6 separate regions of the Homo sapiens genome follow, and regions 1, 3, 4, 5 and 6 are each linked to region 2. Evidence: promoter capture Hi-C in 16 types of primary human blood cells and fetal thymus (Javierre and others, 2016). All regions are on one chromosome and are shown on one strand. The core of a region is centred on a gene start or on the middle of the fragment in contact, and the rest is flanking DNA. Distances in the headings are between cores, read along the strand shown. Region 1 overlaps KIF20B (kinesin family member 20B). Region 2 holds the start of IFIT5 (interferon induced protein with tetratricopeptide repeats 5). Region 3 overlaps STAMBPL1 (STAM binding protein like 1). Region 4 overlaps KIF20B (kinesin family member 20B). Region 5 overlaps KIF20B (kinesin family member 20B). Region 6 has its middle 33 kb from the start of FAS-AS1.

What was found. The method cuts DNA at HindIII sites, captures the fragments that hold promoters and counts their contacts. A CHiCAGO score of 5 or more calls a contact.
Region 1: a fragment that was not itself captured here is called in contact with the fragment with the promoter of IFIT5 in region 2 in 1 of 17 cell types (erythroblasts); the score reaches 6.9 in erythroblasts.
Region 3: a contact is called between a fragment that was not itself captured here and the fragment with the promoter of IFIT5 in region 2, in 1 of 17 cell types (neutrophils). The highest score is 5.5, in neutrophils.
Region 4: a fragment that was not itself captured here is called in contact with the fragment with the promoter of IFIT5 in region 2 in 1 of 17 cell types (megakaryocytes); the score reaches 5.8 in megakaryocytes.
Region 5: a fragment that was not itself captured here is called in contact with the fragment with the promoter of IFIT5 in region 2 in 1 of 17 cell types (megakaryocytes); the score reaches 5.2 in megakaryocytes.
Region 6: a fragment that was not itself captured here is called in contact with the fragment with the promoter of IFIT5 in region 2 in 1 of 17 cell types (M0 macrophages); the score reaches 5.2 in M0 macrophages.

The regions. Positions count from the first base shown.
Region 1 is chr10:89,770,824-89,774,403 of GRCh38, forward strand. KIF20B (kinesin family member 20B) reads left to right here. Exons shown (of 33, transcript NM_001284259.2): 32 at 1,866-2,008; 33 at 3,148-3,580. The coding sequence ends at 3,225. Among named protein-coding and RNA genes, the nearest start is that of LINC00865, 57 kb to the right of the region's middle. The HindIII fragment of the contact is 2,447 bases long and covers 642-3,088 here.
Region 2 is chr10:89,412,645-89,415,893 of GRCh38, forward strand. It overlaps IFIT5 (interferon induced protein with tetratricopeptide repeats 5), which reads left to right and starts at 1,924. Exons shown (of 2, transcript NM_012420.3): 1 at 1,924-2,159. The coding sequence starts at 2,155. It also overlaps a transcript of LIPA not described here. RefSeq lists enhancers at 1,781-2,090, 2,701-2,800, 2,901-2,970. The HindIII fragment of the contact is 3,334 bases long and covers 1,892-3,249 here.
Region 3 is chr10:88,922,099-88,925,258 of GRCh38, forward strand. It overlaps STAMBPL1 (STAM binding protein like 1), which reads left to right. Exons shown (of 11, transcript NM_020799.4): 10 at 239-338; 11 at 1,070-1,389. The coding sequence ends at 1,126. Among named protein-coding and RNA genes, the nearest start is that of ACTA2-AS1, 9.0 kb to the right of the region's middle. The HindIII fragment of the contact is 169 bases long and covers 1,594-1,762 here.
Region 4 is chr10:89,754,204-89,757,443 of GRCh38, forward strand. KIF20B (kinesin family member 20B) reads left to right here. Exons shown (of 33, transcript NM_001284259.2): 26 at 315-470. Among named protein-coding and RNA genes, the nearest start is that of KIF20B, 54 kb to the left of the region's middle. The HindIII fragment of the contact is 3,234 bases long and covers 171-3,240 here.
Region 5 is chr10:89,730,090-89,733,230 of GRCh38, forward strand. KIF20B (kinesin family member 20B) reads left to right here. Exons shown (of 33, transcript NM_001284259.2): 19 at 2,814-2,967. Among named protein-coding and RNA genes, the nearest start is that of KIF20B, 30 kb to the left of the region's middle. The HindIII fragment of the contact is 3,587 bases long and covers 1-3,141 here.
Region 6 is chr10:89,024,019-89,027,378 of GRCh38, forward strand. No RefSeq gene overlaps it. Among named protein-coding and RNA genes, the nearest start is that of FAS-AS1, 33 kb to the left of the region's middle. The HindIII fragment of the contact is 925 bases long and covers 1,234-2,158 here.

The DNA of each region.
Region 1 (3,580 bases), core at 615-3,114, 360 kb after region 2:
ATCTCCCATCCATTCATACATGACAGAATGTTCTTTTCAAAGTGCAGATTGAATTATGTTACTCCTCTGATCCTTTAATGATTTCTCATTCTTCTGAATGACCTGATTTCTGACTCTCTCCAATCTATCTCTTATTATTCTACGGTTTGATAACTAGCCAGCTTCAATCCTGCTAACTTCTGACAGTTCCTAGAATTTGCCAGCTTCTTTCTTACCTTCATATCATTGATTTCTTTTGCTTTTTCCTGTGCTTTCTTTTATCTGGAACACACCCTGGCTTTTGTCTTAGCTGGCCCCTTACCCTTGAGCCCTCATAGCTGATGGAACGTTATTAGGGAGACACCTTCCTTCATCACCCTGTCACTACCCCTCATCCCCAGCATCACTTAATCTTTATTATTCAATCCTATTTTTTGTCTTAGCACTTTTTAAACTGTAATTCTTTGCTTTCTTATTATCTTTTACACTAGAATATAATCTGCACGGACAAAATGTCTGTCTAGTTCATACTGTCAGCTCTTAGTATAGTGGCTAGCACATAGTAGTGATGAGTTTGGCTCTAGGCCAACATATGTATGATTTTTAAACATTTCTATTTTTTTTAGGCTGTACCATAGGCAATTACAAAGACTTACCTGACAAGCTTCCCTTCCTACACCAGACTTGATGCATAGCCAATGCATTATAATCTCTTAAGGGAGTTATAGTCAAGGATCCAGCATCCCCCAAGCTAGTCATGCTCTTACTCATATTTGCATATTTAGCCTGAGTGCCTCCATTCAGAGCCTCTTTATTGAGGCCTTTGGTGGAGGCCTTCTTATGGAGGGGAACAGGAGGGGGAACCTTGAAGACGCTTTTCTCCACTGTAACTCGGTACTTTTCCACGTATAGCTCCCTCCAACCTCCAGCCCTGAGGTCTATAAAACTGCGAGAGCCTTTTGTTTGGGGCTGCCTGGGTGGTAAAATGACCACCACTTCTATGCTGATCTGTATTATTCTGTGGTGGACTATAGAAGAGGGTGGGTAGGAGCTGGTGCTTTCTCAGGTTTAGTCTCTCGCATATACTGTTGAAATAAGTGGTTAAAAAGCTGGGTTGTTACTTTCATTTTGGCTTGTTGTCTTAACTGGCTTCTCCGATACCTGGACTCTCAGCTCTCTCAAGCCCAGCTCAGCCCTTAACAAGTAGTCTTCTCAATTTAGTCTAATGCCTTAAATGTTTTTTCTATTTAAAAAAAAATATTTGATATCACATGTGTGTGAATTTCTATCCAGGAATTTTCCCACATGGAAATATGTTTTCTATTAAAAAAAAGTACTATGTACTATGTACATAGTAAGGAATTTAAAAATTCCTATTCTACTTCCCTAAAAGCAATCAGCTGTTAACAGTTTGGTTTCTCTCCATTTGTGTGTGGACTTGAAGTAAAGGGTTTACAAAGTATTTTCATGCAGCATTCATTGTGCATAACTTTATGCATGAGCATTGAACTAGATCATCTACCACCTTATTTTTAATGCTGCATGATCCACTATGTATATATCCTGCTCTTTTGCTTAACATAGCATAAACATTTTCCAAGTCATTAAAGATGCCTGAGGTTTTTTACTACATTGAACATTAATCAAATGATACTTTATTTGCTTTTTTTTTGCTGTCGATCATTATTTCATGTTCTCTTGACATTTACTTTTTTTCTTTGTGATTTGTCTATTCATGCCCTTTCACCATATATATATTGCAGTGTTTTTAGTTTGTGTATGTTCATTCTTTATTAAGGATTTCAAACCATCTTTATTAAGGATTTCAAATCACCTTTGCAATTAGAAAATTATTTCAGGAACTAATTAACAATTTTATTTTATAGCAAAGAAGATAATTGAAACAATGAGCTCTTCAAAGCTCTCAAATGTAGAAGCAAGTAAAGAAAATGTGTCTCAACCAAAACGAGCCAAACGGAAATTATACACAAGTGAAATTTCATCTCCTATTGATATATCAGGCCAAGTGGTAAGCTAGTATTTCTGTTTTCATCAATGTAGAACTGTTCGTGTTCTTTTTAATTTTTTACAGTGGTTTGAATTTCAATTCTTTAGATCTCTGAAAACACATGCTATAAAGGTCATGCTTTTAGTCTCACATGTGTTAAGTTTATACTAATTAAATATAAATACTGTATTAAATGTATATAAGCGTCATGCATTTGCATTTGAAAATGCATCAGAGGAATTTATTTCCAATAATAGAATTGTCACTATTTAGTAACTTATTTGCCTCCACAATCTTTTTTTCTTTTTCTTTCTCTTTTTTAAATCACGGGAGTTGTACAAATCTGGGCCCAAGTGTTCCTGGTAAAAATATAAAACTGACATTCAGCCATTTCCTCCCACCTTTCCCCTAAGCCTTTGAGGATCTATTAGGAAGAGACTGTAGTTATCACCCTGAGTCTATGATTCATTCTCCTGATTCAGAACAGTATGTGCTGTCACAGGGAAAGCTCAAATTTTCTGTCATGCTTGCATTTGCTTAGTGGATGAAAGTGAAGGTAAAAAAATAATTAAAAGAAATTAAAAAAATTAAAAAGAAGTGGCCAAGAAAAATCAGGAGAAACCTTTTTTGCCACAAGAGCTTTCAGATATGAGATTGACACTTGAATGCAAGATGTAAAGAGTTAGGGTAAATTAGGGCATGGTGTTGTAAGTACCATTCTGTCAGTCATTTTTGAGCATCTGTTTGATTAGTACCTGATTTCTTCCCTTGGCTGAAAATTGTTTTCTTAGTTACTATATAATGTGCTTTCTACTTTCTAAGTTATACATTTGTTGCCACGAAAGATCATTTCTTAAAAATTATTTGAGGCACTTGTCTCCAAATATTTTAGTAATTATTTTAAGTTATATCTGCCTTGAATTCAATATGGAGTCTAGGTTATTTTACTTCTAGAATTTGATAGTGTTGAATCTTTTACAAAGTCTGTTTTTTAAATAAATTTTTATAGAAGATGGCATATCTGTAGTCTAAGTAAAAAAAATTCTCCAATGTATCATTTCAGTTACTAAGCACATGAACATGTCTTACTCATTATAAACAAGCTTTTATTTTTATTTTCACTTACAAGCTTTGAAAAACTATGAAATTTTTAATTTCAGATTTTAATGGACCAGAAAATGAAGGAGAGTGATCACCAGATTATCAAACGACGACTTCGAACAAAAACAGCCAAATAAATCACTTATGGAAATGTTTAATATAAATTTTATAGTCATAGTCATTGGAACTTGCATCCTGTATTGTAAATATAAATGTATATATTATGCATTAAATCACTCTGCATATAGATTGCTGTTTTATACATAGTATAATTTTAATTCAATAAATGAGTCAAAATTTGTATATTTTTATAAGGCTTTTTTATAATAGCTTCTTTCAAACTGTATTTCCCTATTATCTCAGACATTGGATCAGTGAAGATCCTAGGAAAGAGGCTGTTATTCTCATTTATTTTGCTATACAGGATGTAATAGGTCAGGTATTTGGTTTACTTATATTTAACAATGTCTTATGAATTTTTTTTACTTTATC
Region 2 (3,249 bases), core at 674-3,173:
GTCTACGGCTTTACTCCTGAAGTCAGTGAAACCACGAACCCACCGGGAGGAACGAACAACTCCGGACGCGCCACCTTTAAGATCTGTAACACTCACTGTGAAGGTCTGCAGCTGCACTCCTGAAGTCAGCAAGACCACGAACTCACCAGAAGGAAGAAACTCCAGACACATCTGAACATCGAAAGGAACAAACTCCAGACACGCCATCTTTAACAACTGTAGCACTCACAGCGAGAGTCCGCAGCTTCATTCTTGAAGTCACCAAGACCAAAAACCTACTGGAAGGAACCAATTCCGGACACACCATCACCTACGTATTAAGCTCAGCATCACTTAGCTATACTTCTTGATGCTCTCCCTCCCACCACCCCCAACTCCAACAAGCCCCAGTGTGTGTTGTTCCCCACTGTGTCCGTGTGTTCTCATCATTTAGCTCCCACTTACAAGTGAGAACATGCAGTGTTTGGTTTCTGTTCCTGCATTAGTTTGCTGAGGATAATCACTGGAAATACTTGCTCTGTATTTAGAGTTCATAAAATTTGCAACTTATAAAAAGCAGATTCGTATACCTAAGTTATTCCAAATGTAAGTTTTCTATTAACTTATCAGTTTTTAAATTTATATTAAATTAAAAATCAGGTTCTTAATAGCCACAGGTGACCAGCAGTTTCTGTATAAGACAGTACAACTGTTAGAAGTGATTGCTTTAAATGAGGCACTCGCTTCAGGCACTAAGTTTTGAGGGGTGGGGTGCCAGAAGCTCAGTGATCAAGGTAGACAATATTTCAATGCAATATGTTTTTAAAAATTCAAAATCAGGCCAAGCATAGTGGCTCATGCCTGTAATCCCAGCATTTTGGGAGGCCACGATGGGCGGAACAATATTTAAGGTTTAGAAAAATATTTGTGCCCAGGTGTTGGAGACCAGCCTGGGCAACATGGCAAAACCCCGCCTCTACAAAAAATAAATTAATTAGCCCGACATAGTGGTGCACGCATATAGTCCCAGCCACTCAGGAGGCTGAGGTGGGAGGATCGCTTGAGCCATGAAGGTTGAGGCTGCAGTGAGCTGTCATCTCACCACTGCACTCCAACCTGAGTGACAGAGTGAGACCCTGTCTCAAAAAAAAAAAAAAAACCAAAATCAATGCAAAAGATGAATTATGGACAGGATATTGAGGTTTTGAATACAGACATTAACTCAATAAGGGTAAGGCCCGTGTCTGTTTTCTTTATTGTTATATTGACAGTACTTTGAACAAAGTCTGGCTCTTACAGTTGTTTGTCAATATTTGCTGAATGAATTCAAAGGGGACAAAATGTTTAAGGTATGGGTGTTTGACATTTTCTGCCTAGATCCCCAATACCACTCTTGTCTTTATTGGGTCCTTATTACAAAGCACCATTGGCGAAGGTATGGAAGAGAAGCAGTCTCCTACAATTGTGGGTAAGAGTGGATTTTTAAAGCTATTTGGCAATATCCGTCAAAACTTAAAATGTATATAGATTTTAGCTCCAAATTTCTCAGTTTACACCCAACAGAAATAACAGCATAGATGTATAGCATTGCAGTGTTGCTTGTTGAATCAAAAGACTGGAGTGGAAGCAGGGACTTAAGTTTCCGCCTGTAATCCCAGCACCTTGGGAGGCAGAGGCGGGCGCATCCCTTGAGATCACGACTGGGTGACACAGTGAGACGCTATCTCAAACAAACAAACAAACAAACAAACAGTTACACGGGCAGCATGCGAACTCAGCGTACTCAGGGAGGCAGATAAAAGCCGAGACCAAAGTGAAGGAGCCCAGCTGCAAATTCAACTCCGAAAGACCCTGGACTCCGCAAACGTCTGGCCGCGGCTCTTGAGCTCTTCTATTAAGTTTCGGTTTCTGAAGCTTACGTTTAGTTTCGATTTCTTAAGTTTCAGTTTCTGAGCGCTCGGCATCTGATTCAATCTCCAGTTTCCTGTTCTTGCTGGGGCTGGGGTCTCTCCTTTAACAAAGACACGCCGCGCGGCCGAGTCCAGGGGCTGCAGAGGCCTGGCGCGCGCACGCGCACGCGCACGCCCACCGCGCGGCTTCCCGCGGTCCCCGGTGCTGAGGAGAGAGCGATCCGAGGGACTGCGCCGCCCGGACGGCCTGCAGAGCGCTGCCATCATGAGGTAAGGGTTTTCCTTTGCCTCTCCTCCCAAGCCCTGCGTCGGCCTTGGTTTCAAACCGGGCTGCTTTTATTCATTTCCAGCGCAGTTCTGCGGCCTTTTCAGGGGCCGAGCCCCTCGCGCCCAGCAACCGGGCATCTGCGTTGGGGACCCTCCCCGGGCGCTCTGTCCCGGCGCGCGGCGTCTGAAGTCGGGCCTGCCGGGGAGGGTGGCCGAGTGGACGCTTCTCGGGAGTCCGGCCCCTCCCCAGCGCCTAAGAAGGCCGGTCAGGGAGGAGGAACAGGAGATGCTCCCCGGGAGCCTGTCCCATCCCTGGCGTCTGCGGTCGGGACTGTCAGGGTATGTGCCGGGCGACGCTCCCCCGGAAGGCCTGTCCACCCATCGCGACCCGACGGCTCTTCTCGGCAGCGGCGACGGTGACCGTGCTGGGTCCGCGGCCGCCGCCTCCGGGAAACTGGTCAGCGCCTGCAGAGCCCCCAGGCGCTGTTCCGGGGGCAGCTGCTACGTGCCACGGGTCTCCTTAGGCCTGTCGCGTGCCTCTCTTTCCAGCTGCCATTCCCTCGGTGTGGCATACGCGGTTTCGCCGCAGCCCTGCAGGCGTCAGGTTCGCCTGCCACTGCCAGTTTGCGTTTCTGATTTCTGGGTCTGAGTTCTTCCCTTCCCAGGAGCTACCTCTGTACCAAGCACAGATTGTTATCGTCCCACCCAATCCGCTGTTTTATGAGGATTTCTTTATCTGTTTCCTTTACTGATTTAGTATGATGGCGTCCTTTTCTTGATCATTTTGTATCCCCAGGGGCTAGCACCCCGCCCTGCACGTGGTTAGTGAACCTTCCGCATTTAATGAGTTGAGGAATGAGATGTTAAGGTCTTGGGCTCTAAAAGCAGATAGTCCCTTGTTCTAAATCCGGACTGAACTCCTACTAGTTGAGTGATCCCAAAGTTTCTCAAACTCTGTGAGTCTGTTCCTTATTTGTAAAAATTAATGGTGTCCATCTCTTGGGACTGTGGAAAAGGACAGTAATAAATCCTATCAGTTGACTGCTTAGCACATAATACTTGCACAATAAATGTTAATTATTCCCATTATAAG
Region 3 (3,160 bases), core at 428-2,927, 490 kb before region 2:
GCTTATTTGCCTTGTCCCCTTAACGGTCCTGCAGGCTCTTAGCAGCAGCATTGCCTCCTCCTGGGTTTCTCTCCTCTGGACCAGTCATTGGTTTAAAAAAAAAATCACTATGGAATTCCTAGTTTGTGATTTCTCAATCCCATCTGAGGAATATGTATGTGTGTGCTGTTCAAATAAAGCATCTGGAATGCCCAAATGATCCTTAATTTTTCTATCTTGTTTTTGCTCTGAAATTTAGCACTGGCATCTTCAGGCTCACCAATGCTGGCATGCTTGAGGTTTCTGCTTGTAAAAAAAAGGGCTTTCATCCACACACCAAGGAGCCCAGGCTGTTCAGTGTGAGTACATCATATTAGTTATTTTTCCAGGTATTTCTTGTTCACTGCCCCCCCAATCTGTTTTTAAATAAATAGTAGCAGTCTAATATAAGATAAAATACTGTACTGCTTAGTTTGGAGTTTTATCTCAGAAAATTAATCTATCTGTATACTTAATTTCTGATTTATTCTCAAAATAATTGTATTTACAAGGAAACATCAGTATTTCTGTAGCAGAATTAATGGTGCACAAAGTTACCTTTCCGCTTATGTATATGTATGATATTTAAAAGTTTTCTTCAGAGTCCAAATAAGTAAACAATTATCATAGAAAATGACATTTAAAATGTTGCATGAATTCTTTCTGCTTGATATGGCCAAATTAGTTTTTTCATAGCAATTGATGGAAACTATGATCATACTTCTTGATTACCTTTGCATAGTCCAAAAGAAACATTTGACTACGCCTTTTTTTTTCCTAATTTTCTTGGAGGTTCTGTGGCTATAACATCAGAGAACATTATATTGACGTTAGAATTTACTTAAAATGAAAATTATTTGGCAACCCCTGTAAATATTTTTGTTGTTGTTGAAAATGAATAAATGTGATTGTATTTGTTCTGATTGGAAATATTTTAAAAATCAGGAACAAATTAAAATTAGGAAATCTATACTTCCTCCCTAAAGAAAATCATATGGTAAACATTATGGTGAAATCAAACATATGGTAAAACCAATTTTTTCTTTCCTAGATATGCAAACATGTGTTGGTAAAAGACATAAAAATAATTGTGTTGGATCTGAGGTGATATGTTCTGAATGTAAGCACCGTCAACATCAGACACCTACTCATGGACATGTGGTTGCCGGATTTTCTTAAGATGTTTCCAGAAATGACTGATATTTTATATTTATACATTTTAGATGACAAAGCTTGATATTTATTGCTGTTGCACATTTTAAAGTTTTCTTTTTGGGTTGCTCTGTGTCAAGAGAGGTTACATGGTGTTAAATCGGTACCTGATAATGTACCCAAATACTATGGCCAGATAATAAATTGTGCTGCAAACAACATGTCTTGTATTTATAGAGGTCTCTGCATACATTTTTAGAGCTTTAGATGATTTGCTATATTTTTTATTCATGTAAAATGTAATTCCAAATAAGAAATTCTGAGTGTATATAGTCTCCAAAGCAGACCATCTGTTTCTGAAACCTTCCCCTGAGGTAGGTGAACAGCTTCCATGTGTAGATGAAATATGGCTGCCATTGATAAAGCTTGTTCTGTGTTTTCAGTGTCATGAAATCCCAGGCTCAGAGAGATATCTCTGCAGTGAATCATTGTGTAAGATACAAGAACAACACTTCTATTCAGGGATCAGGTGTCAGAGGGCCTGGGATAGCAGACAATTCATTAATTTGATTTAGAAGACTAAAAGTAGAGAAGCTTGAGAGAGGATTTTTTTTTTAAAAAAAGACTCAGATAAAAGTACAAAACCTGTTACTGTGAAAATGAACAGGGGTGATAGGAAGAAGAAATGAGACATAAGAAATAACTGATAATTCTTAGTCAACTTGCTAACTCTGTTAGCAAGTTGAATTGGTAGGAAAAACCTGAGGATGGAAACAGTGTGGAGAAATCTTAGCTGCAGATACACAGAGGGCAGAATGGAAGTGATATTGTTGAGTTATTTGAGAATAGGTCCTTTGGGACACTGAAGACTAGTTCTGCAGGTGAAATCTTTATCTTGGAAGACATTGCTCCCAGGCACATTGGGAAATCCTGGGCTGACAGCCCTTTCCTTGATCGAGAAACTTGTGATCACTTCTTAGTCTCCCTTTTCATCCTTTAGGGCCTTACATTACTCTAGTCTAGCTTTCTTCTTTTTTCTTTTCAACGTTTAAGTTTCCTTCTCCAGCCATCTCTCCCTGGATCTCCACAACTTTTCAACAGGGCCAAACTAATCCTATGAAACCTTCTGTCTTCCCAATGTCTTCTGTGCCAGCCACAGCTCTCCCTGCCTTTGCTTTCCTCATGACATTGTATCTGAGTTGCCTAAACAACTCATGTTTCCATGTACTAGCTTCCACTGCTTAGTTCAATGATTTCCATATTCCAGAGTGGTATTTCCTGTACTCTGTGCTTGGATGGGTTAACATCTGATATGGTTTGGCTGTGTCCCCACCCAAATCTCATCTTAAATCATAGTAGGAGGGACCTGGTGGGAGGTAATTGAATCATTGGGGTGGTTACCTCCATGCTGTTCTCATGATAGTGAGTGAGTTCTCAGGATATCTGATGGTTTCATAGGGGGCTTTTTCCCTTTTGCTCAGCACTTCTTCCTGCCATTATGTGAAGAAGGACGTGTTTTGCTTCCCTTTCCGCAATGATTTTAAGTTTCTTGAGGCCTCCCCAGCAATGCAGAACTGTGAGTCAATTAAACCTCTTTCCTTTAGAAATTGCTCAGCCTTGGTCAGTTCTTTATAGTAGCATGAGAATGGACTAATGCATCAACCCTCCCTGCTTGTCTAGTTCTCAATTCTGGTATCATGTCACCTGAATTCTGTTCCTGTTCTCATTTATACAGAACCACCTACTATGGGCAAGTCAGTGGCTTGTTTCTGTTTCATGGAATCTTCTAGCTATGGAGAGCTCAGGTATCAGACTTCAGAAGTAGAGCTTGGCTTGCCTTGTGCATGGAGACTTTAGTCTATGGCCACCACTAGTTAAGAGCAGATTAACTCTGCAAGGCTGGCTCCATAGACACCTCACTTTTTCCTGAGTGGTGCTGTCCTCAGTGTCTTAACACTTAAACACACCATGATATTCTGATATGCTTGAT
Region 4 (3,240 bases), core at 538-3,037, 340 kb after region 2:
CATTTAGGAAGATTTGAGTCAGTTTAACTGTTTCAGAAATTTGAATTATTTATTTTTTCTTAAGGTCACTGATAAAAGTATTTAAATGGACTTCATAGCAAAATTAACTTATAAATGAAATGCGTTTAGGAAAGCAAACCAGTTATTTTATTATTTTTTAAATAATCTGAAGCTTTGATCTTGTCATTGTTTAAAGTGAAACATTAAAGTTTTTATAGAGGTGAAAAGTAATGGATTGTATGAAAATGTTATAGAAACATGTATTGACTACTTTGTAGGCATGCGATAATAACTTATACCATTTATATATACAGGAGTCTGAACAGAAATATAATGCTGATAGAAAGAAATGGTTAGAAGAAAAAATGATGCTTATCACTCAAGCGAAAGAAGCAGAGAATATACGAAATAAAGAGATGAAAAAATATGCTGAGGACAGGGAGCGTTTTTTTAAGCAACAGAATGAAATGGTTAGTAACAATTGTATCTTTGATGTATTTCACCTACTTTCCTTGGTGTGTTAAATGTATTGCTGGAATTAACAGTTTCTACATGGTTTTCTGTTTTTGGTTTTTTAAAGGCAGGTTGTCATCTTTATAAGATAACTTCTGAGCCAATTTATCTTGACATTCACTAATGTTCTTGTTTTAACTTGTTTCAGTTGATTTAGCATGTTGGGAGAATACCTTATTGCTTCTTACTGTCTAGATACTGAAGTAAAAAATCTCTTCCTTTTGACCGTTACAGAGTATTCCCTATTATATTTTAAAACTTTCTGCATTTTGAACTGTAGATTCTAATACTGTGTACATTTTATCACATAAAGTCACCTAAATAGTTTGTAAAAGACTATATATATAGTAGAAATGACCTTCAGTTTTACATTTACTAGCTGTAGGTCTTGTAATGATTGTCTTAGCCTGTTCTTTTTTTCTAATTGGCACTTAGTCTGACATGCCATGTTGGCAATCAGAAAAAAGAAGCTAAACGTTATCGTTAATCCGAGGAAAGCTATTGAGCAACAAATATTTTAAAATGAAAAACCAGTGTCTATAAAAATAGTAACTTCGCAGTATCATATTGTCATCTGTTGGCATTTCCTTTTTTTATGACTGCATTTGACTAAAAACAGTTAAACTTTCCTATAAAAACTGAAAGATTTCCTTCCTTCTTTCCTTCCTTCCTTCCTTGCTCCCTCCCTCCCTCCTTTCCTTCCCTCCCCTCCCCCCTTTCCTTCCCTCCCCCCTTTCCTTCCCTCCCCTCCCCTCCCTCCCCTTTCCTTTTTCCTTTCCTTCTTCCTTTTCTTCATCCTGTCCTCCTTCTTCCTTTCCTTCCTTTCTCCTTTCCCTTCCCCGTGCCCATCCCCTTCCCCTTCCCTTTCCCTTTCCCTTTTCTTTCCTCTTTTAAAGAGACAAGGTCTTGTTCTGTCACCCAGGCTGGAATGCAGTGGTGCAGTCATGGCTCACTGCCGCCTCAGACTTCAGGGCAAAAGCAATCTTTCCAGCTCAGCCTCCCAAGTAACTGGGACTACAGGCACATGCCACCACACCTAGGTAAATCTTTTATTTTTTGTAGGGACAGAGACTTGCTGTGTTGCCCAGGCTGGTCTCAAACTCCTGGTCTCAAGCAGTCCTCCTGCCTCAGCTTCCCCCAAGTGTTGGGATTATGGGTGTGAGCCACTGTGCATTGTACCCGGCCTGAAATGTTAATTTTCAATAAGGTAAGGACAGTTTTTCCACTTTTTTTCTTCCCTAGCTTTAAAGCTGCTTTTAACATTGAATATTGAACAGAGTTGGCCAGTTTTTATTAAAATGAGGCTGTTGTGAGCTAAACTTTCCAGCATGCTTGCTAAACTCCAGACCATACATGTATTCTACTCCAGAAATCAAGCCCTTGGTTGAAGTGTGTGTCCTTTCTGAAGCTAGAGAGTCTACCATTGAATGCTCTGTCCTCATGTCACATGGTGTAAATTTGCTCCCATAAAAAAGTTTACTTTTTCATGAAATCATTTTATTTACAGAATAAATTTTTTGAAATCATTTTATTTACAGAAAAGTTACAGAACTAGCACATAGAATTCCTGTATACCTATCACCCAACCTTCCTGACCCAGTAGTAAGAGGCAATAAGTAAAATCAAAACAGAAGGCTGTCACAGTTGCTCCAATTCCAAACCAGTGGTTTCTCTGGTAGCAATGCCAGCAAGTAATCCCACTTTGAATTTTTAATCCTAGGGAAAGCTAGTTTACTCTTTTCTCTCATATGTTTCTTTATAATCATACTTAGGTTGTGTATGTGTCTGCCATACTTAAGAAACACATTTTTGATGTAATGTTAATTTTTGATGTAAAATTGTAACATATAACATGGAAAGGAAATAGAACATAGTTCAGTGAGTTATTGTGAAGCCAGTACCCACTTAACTAATACCTATTTCAAGAAGAGAACACTGTTCCACCCCAGAAGCTCCTTCTTCTGCCTCTTTTCCAGTGGTAATAACTAATCTGTCCTTCAGTGTTACACTTCAGTTTTGTCTGTTTTTGGGTTTTATGTAAATTGAAATATATGAATACATTTGATTGTACCTGACTTCTTTTCATTCACTATTTTATGTTTGTGAGAATCATCCATGTTTCCATGCATGTATCTGGAGTTAGTCCACTTTCATTTCAGAATATTTAAGTGTATGAATAAACCACTGCTAATTCATTTTAATGTTGAAGATATTTGGATTGTTTTCTGGTTTTGGCTGTTATGAATAAATTTTCCTATAAACATTTTTATACATTTGTTTTGGTGCACATTTGCATATATCTCTGTTGTGTGTGTGTGTGTGTGTATATATATATATATATATATATATATATACACACATGACAATTGCTAGATGATAGGGTATATATATGTGAAATTCTAGTAGAATGCTGCACTGATTTTCGAAGCAGTTGTACCCATTTATACCCCAACTAGTGTTGCAGTAGCTGTATAGTCCCACCAAGGTATGGTATTGTCAGTCAGTTTTTAAAATGGTTTTAATGTGCTTTTCCCTAATTACTGATGAAGTTGAAGATTGTTTCATTTGTTTATTGGCTGTGCCTATACAAGTTCCCTTACCTGTTTCTCTGTTGGATTATCTAGCTTCTTATTTGTAGGAATTCTTTATACTTTTCGGGATAGAAGCCCTTTTTGTAATGTGTTGCAAGTACCTTCTTTCTATCTCTAGTTTGCTTTTTCTTTCTTA
Region 5 (3,141 bases), core at 99-2,598, 320 kb after region 2:
ACTTTAGATGGGCATTTGATACCACAGGGGTAAATGAGGAGCATTCTAGAAGAGCACTCTGTCTAATCTCCTATAGTAGGCCTTTCTTTTGGTATTTATTAGATACATGATTCATTCTCTGGTTTTTCTGTACCTGAACTGGGAGAAATATCCTAATATTTAATATGTTAATAATAAACTATTTAGTAATAATTAGTATTTAATAAGGTGGAGGAGCAAGAAACACTTGTGGAGTGTCCAACGTGTGCCAGGTACTATGCTAGATTATTGGAATTATACAGATTAATAAAATCTACTACCCTAACAATCCCCCAATAAGAAAAAAACAACATAAATATAGTTATAATACAATGTGCAGTCGTAGTCAATGTGTGAAGCTGTGAGTGGGTGGGGAGTTAGGAATACTTTGTGGAGATGAAAATGATTAAGTTGAGCCTTAAAGGGTGAGTAAAATTTAGCCTTTTGAAGGTAGAGGAAGGGGACAGTGGTAGTCAGGAGAGACAAGAAGGTACATTGGCCTTCCATGTACCAGAATCAGAGTGCACAAAGTCATGGAAATGAGAAATCTTTCAGTGAGTGCAGGAAAATACAAACAATTTGTTGTTTAGGAAGAAAGTTTGAAGCAAGGAGAGGTGAGAAATGAGGCTAGGAGTAGTAGAATAGGATAAGATGAAAGACCTTGAATACTGCATTAAAGAGTTTGGGGAGTCAGTGGGGGAGTCATTTTCACCAGAGGAATAGCAAAGAGGAGTTTTTCATTTGAGTAGATATTTTTGGAAACTTGGAAGATAGGATTGAGATGGAATTAGACTACAGGCAGAGAGACCAGATAGCTACCTCTTGGAAGAGTTCAGCTAATAGTTGATGAGGACTTCGATTTACGGTAGTAGTAGTAGAGATTAAGGAAGAGGAAATTGATTTGTGAAGTAAGGGGATGTTAAAATTTTGAGACTTGGGGCAGTAAATTAATTGCTGGGCCTCCTGGCTCTCGAAACTTTTATTTGGTTAGTCATCACATGCTTTTTGCTCTCATCTCTTGATCTGGATTTTAAGTCTGTTCTTTGATTTGGTAAATAAAAACAAAAAGGAAAGTCAGAGACAGGTCATTTCTGGTGACTACAACTTCAAAGAAAATAGTTGGAAATTTCACATGGGATTATATTTATTGCTGTAGTGTGTTTGCATACCATAATATATTAGCAATATTTAAGGAAGTGATAGTAAAAAAATCAATATTTGTAAATTAGTTAGTCCTTGCTTGTAAATAAACTTTATAGATTCTAGATCTTGTTTTATCAACTAACTTAATACAGTGTGCTAAATTTAAATTGTTCACTTAAATACATACAAATATACAAAGTAGTTTGGAACTTACCTAATTGTCCTGATTAACAGTTGATCTAGGGTCACTGTTCCACATCTTGTCTTGAGCGCAAACTCTTTCCAATAATGAAAAAATTTAGTTTGAATTCTTTGCTTTTTCTACCCAAGCATACCCTGGGAGCAGAAAACCCTCCTTTCAATAACTATAACTTCTGAAGGATAGATTTTTGGTGAGGATTGTATATTTTGAAGCGGGGAAAAATGACGGGATCATTCTGATAGGTACCAAGGATCGGGGAAGGAACAACTTGGACTTGTTATGGAGCTGTGTCAGAGGTGTGATCTGCCTGTCCCATGATTTTGTCATTTATCAGTGACACTAAGGGACTAATTGTGAGAAAGCGTGGAGATTGTTCTTTATGACATCCTTTGTTTAGAGATACTAGAAAAACTTTGCCTTTTTTCTTAAATAACCCATTACTTTATGACTTTAAAAGGTTATTTTTATCTGTATTTCCTGCTAATACAATGTTTGCTGATTAAGCGGCACTCTATCATACACTTTGTTTTTTCAAATTGATTGCTACAAGTTTCTGCCTTCACCATACATTTGATTACTCTATAGACTTGCGCTTAAATGCTGAGTTTTACCCTTCTTCTAAATCCATATTATACCCTTTTTTTGGAAGTTCCCCCCCTCTCTCAGCTCCCCCACTTTCTTTCTTTTTAGAGGTAGGGTCTCATCACTCTGTTGCCCAGGCTGAAGTGCAGTGATGTGACCATGGCTCACTGCAGCCTTGAACTGCTGGGCTCAAGAGATCCCATTGCCTTAGCCTTCCGAGTAGCTGGGACTGCAGGCATGGACCACAACACCTGGAATTTTAATTTTTTGTAGAGACGGGTTCTCACTGTGTGGCCCAGGCTGGTCTCAAACTCCTGGGCTTGAGTAATCCTCCGGCCTCAGCCTCCCAAAGTGCTGGGATTACAGGCAGGAGCCCCTGTGCTTGGTTGCTACTAGCCTTTTCAAGGGAGGCAGTCTGCCTTAAAAAAAAAAAAAGTCTAAATGACGTATCTAGAAGCTCAGTTTCAAAGCTGTCTGTAGGCTGTATATCTTTGAATATATATCGACTTAAAGCTAAGGGCAAAACTATTTTTCTAGGAGTTGTTAATGTTTAAGACAATACTAATCTTTAAGAGGCTTTGGCTACAAAACAAAATAAATAGTTGAGTTCATATTTTTCTTTTCAAAGCACATTTCTGATGTGACTTCAGAGATTTATCTTCTTAAGATTCTCCAGTTATCCCCAAATGTTACTTATTTGCTAGAGCCATCAGTTATTTTAGGACGAAACTTAAGAAATAACTTAGAAAATGTCTCAACAAATTTGAAAATAAAATTTTTATGGTACACCATTGAAAGTAATTTATGTGATTTGTACATTTTTTGTAGCTTTCTATATGTGAATTATTTTTAACTTATTTTGCTTTAGGACAAGGCTGATACATCTTCTTTAATAATAAACAATAAATTGATTTGTAATGAAACAGTTGAAGTACCTAAGGACAGCAAATCTAAAATCTGTTCAGAAAGAAAAAGAGTAAATGAAAATGAACTTCAGCAAGATGAACCACCAGCAAAGAAAGGTACTACTTCAGCTGCCAGCAGCAGGCGTTTAAGAAAGCTAATTTCTAAACCAGTAAATAGAACAAGGCAAACAGAGGGGCATTCACTTGTCTAAGGAAAAATCTTGAGAAAATCTAAACGTCTTGAATTTTTATTCTGGAAAGTTATACATTTTCTAGGGATGGGCATAGTTA
Region 6 (3,360 bases), core at 446-2,945, 390 kb before region 2:
TGTAGGACAAACCTCCACATTGTACCAACAAGGCACAGGGAAGCTGAGTCTTGACACCAACTCCAGTCTTTCATTGGTTGAGGGGTCTTTCTAGGGCATTAACTCCCTAATATCCCTAATACTTCTGGCCTGTCTTCTTCCCTCCAGCTTTGGTATCCTGAGGACAGACACCTTTAAGCAGAGAGATGGAGGAGGCCATGTGTCACATTTGTTAGCAGGTGATCTCTTGATGATCCAGGGTCCAATAGTGTCTATGGCAAACAGCAGGCTGCTGAGATGTCTAAGTATAGAAGGACTAGGGTATCTCATGGGATAACTCGTTCTGCATGAAAAAGGTAATGGGCATGGTGAATTTTGTTTATTAAGAACACCTTAGTTGGTGACATTAATTTTCAGTATAGATTGGCGTCTATTGCTTAAATCTCTTGCCCATGGATGAAAGCAAAGAAAAATCAATAAAGAAAGTTGAAAGAGCTATTTTACAAAGCTTGGAAAAACACTGGTCTCTCATCCCTGTGTCAAAATATAGTGCAGATTTATCCAGACATCCAATCTTCCTTTCCTTTCCTCGCTTCTCCCCTCTCCTCCTTAACACGTGCATATTGTCCAAACCACCATCTTGCTTTGGTATAAGGGGAATTCCACTCTTGTGGGTGTCCAAAGGCCACTCCTGTGGAATTCTTACCCTTATGCCATCTAAACCATGCACCTCTGATATGCACTCACATATAATTGTCTTCTGTAGATGTTTAATTATCTCCCCTTTGCTAGGCCATAAGCCATCTGAGGGCAGAAATCATGATTAGCACAGAGTAGGTGTTCAGTCAACATTTCTTGAATGAATCAGTTAATGAAGGAACATTATGTATGCAGTAGTCATTTGTGTTCTGTATGACTGGCATTTGATGGAAAAGTCACAGCGAGTGTTAGGGAAGCTGAACTTTTTTTTTTTTTTAAACATTGTATCATTAATTTATCACGTGTATCCAAGCTCCTTTGAGTTTCCCTGCCCCCATCCCTGTGTCATTCCAGCCATATCCAGCTACTCCTTCCATGCTTCCCCCATTCTTGTTTCTGACTCTATTACTCCCAGTCCAAATCTTGCTCTTCACTGTCTGCACCTTGTGCTCTCCTCTCTCTCAAAAAAATCTACCCAAATTCCACCCCTCTTCACAGGCCCAGGGAAATCACTAGTTCCCGCAGGAGGCTGTAGGCTGTAACCAACTCTCTGAAAGCTTTGAGTCCTCTCTGAGGTCATCTGTGCTTGTCCTCGTTCCATCAGGCACTCCTATGTTACTTGACCTGTGGTCTGCATGTACAGATCTTGTACCCCATATACATTGTAAGGTCCTTGAAGGCAGAAAAGGAAGCATAAAGAAGTGGGTAGGAGTGTAAGCTCTGAAGACTGTGCATTTGAATCCCTGCCATTCCTAGATTTGGGACCTTGTCACCTTGGGCAACTTATTTACCTCCTCTGGGCCTTAGTTTTCTCACTTCTAGAAGAGGGAAAATGATAGTATCTGCCATGTAGTGCTGCTCTGAGGATTAAATGAGATACTCCACTTAGAGCCCATGGAATGGTATCTGGCATGTGATAAGCGCTAAATATAGCTTTCCTATAATTACAGTAATGCCCAGGGCTCCACAGGCCCAGCCCAGCACCAGTACAGGAATAGTATGACATTGATGCTAGAGTTGGCAGATTGAGGAGAACACACAAAGGGCTAATGATGTTCAAATACACATCAGATTTCACACAGAGCTTTGGGCTTGACTTCCCCAGCTGCAGGATTCTTCTGGCTATCTGCTTTATAAATAAAAAGCACAAGTCTGCAGTAAAATGCAGGGAAGTGACAAGAAGGCTCATTCAAAGGTCATGGCAAATGAAATAGCCACAGGTAAAAGTTTCCCTTCATTGTATGCTTTCTGTCCATTCTTGTGGATGCTGCTGCAGCAAGGAATTTGGGAAAGGGCCATTGGTGGGAGCAATGTGTCCTAGTCACCTAAACGAAAGACACTGAAGTGAGTGCAACAAAATGGACTTTCTTTTCCAGGGTGGCACCCTCCCACCAACCATCCAAACCCCTCTGTCTAAAGAGCGCAGCTTAACCTCTGGATTATAAGGATTTCAGATTTGTTTCCTAAATCTGGAACTCAAAGCTTTCTCCTCCTCAATCTACCCCCAATAACCTTGTCTCTTTTGGAAGCCTTCCCTGCAGTTCTAACAAACTAAATGGTTCATAACTTGACCTCATGAATGCCTCTCTTCTATATGTTTTCTTAGCTTTTGACCTGGAATTCCCTTCTTCCCATCCATGAAGGTCAAATGCCACCCCTCTTTCAAGTCTTAGTTGGAGGCCACCTCTTTATGAAACCTTCTCTGGTGTCTCAGGCTAAAGACACTGTAGGCCACATCTGTTTATTAGGGCCAACAATGCCTCCCTCATTTTTTGTGGTATGGATTAAAGACAATTCTGAAAAGCACCTAGAACAGTGTCTGGCTTACTCAAAAATGGTAGACATTATTATCATTATCACTCTCATCCTAATTAATTATATATAGAGCTTATTATCCTAAAGGCAGTGGAAGGGAGTAAGGATTATGTTTGACTAATTTTACAGGTCTAGGCATCAAAGAAAAATTTGCTGTACAAATGATCATACAAATTAATGAGCGAAAAGATATCTAACTCATCCCTGAGACAACATGAGGTGCAAACAACTGTGTGTTTCTAAATCTGCAGTACAACCCAGCAAGTATATCATTGTTTTTCCTCCTGATTATGAAGCCAGTACATAGTCAGCTAGAAAATTCAAGCAATACAAAACAGTTTTAAAAAGAAAGTGCAAAAGGCCGGGTGTGGTGGCTCATGCCTGTAATCCCAGCACTTTGGGAGGCCGAGGAGGGTGCATCACCTGAAGTCAGGAGTTCGAGACCAGCCTGGCACCATGGTGAAACCCCGTCTCTACTAAAAATACAAAAATTATCTGGGCGTGGTGGCACGTGCCTGTAATCCCAGCTACTCAGGAGGCCAAGGCAGGAAAATCACTTGAACTTGGGAGGCGGAGATTGCAGTGAGCCAAGATCATGCTACTGTACTTCAGCCTGGGCAACAGAGTGAGATCTGTTTAAAAAAAAAAAAAGTGCAAATTAATCCCAATCCCACTGTTCAAAGGTAACTCTTGTGAATTTTTAGATATCTACACACACACAAAGTTAAAGAAAGGTGATCACACCATACACGCTTATAACATGCTTTTTACTCAACAATGGGTTATGGTTGCTATTCCATGTTAATAAATAAAAATAATTTCTTTTTAATATTCCTTTTAAATATAATTGTTATGGTTTGGCTGTGT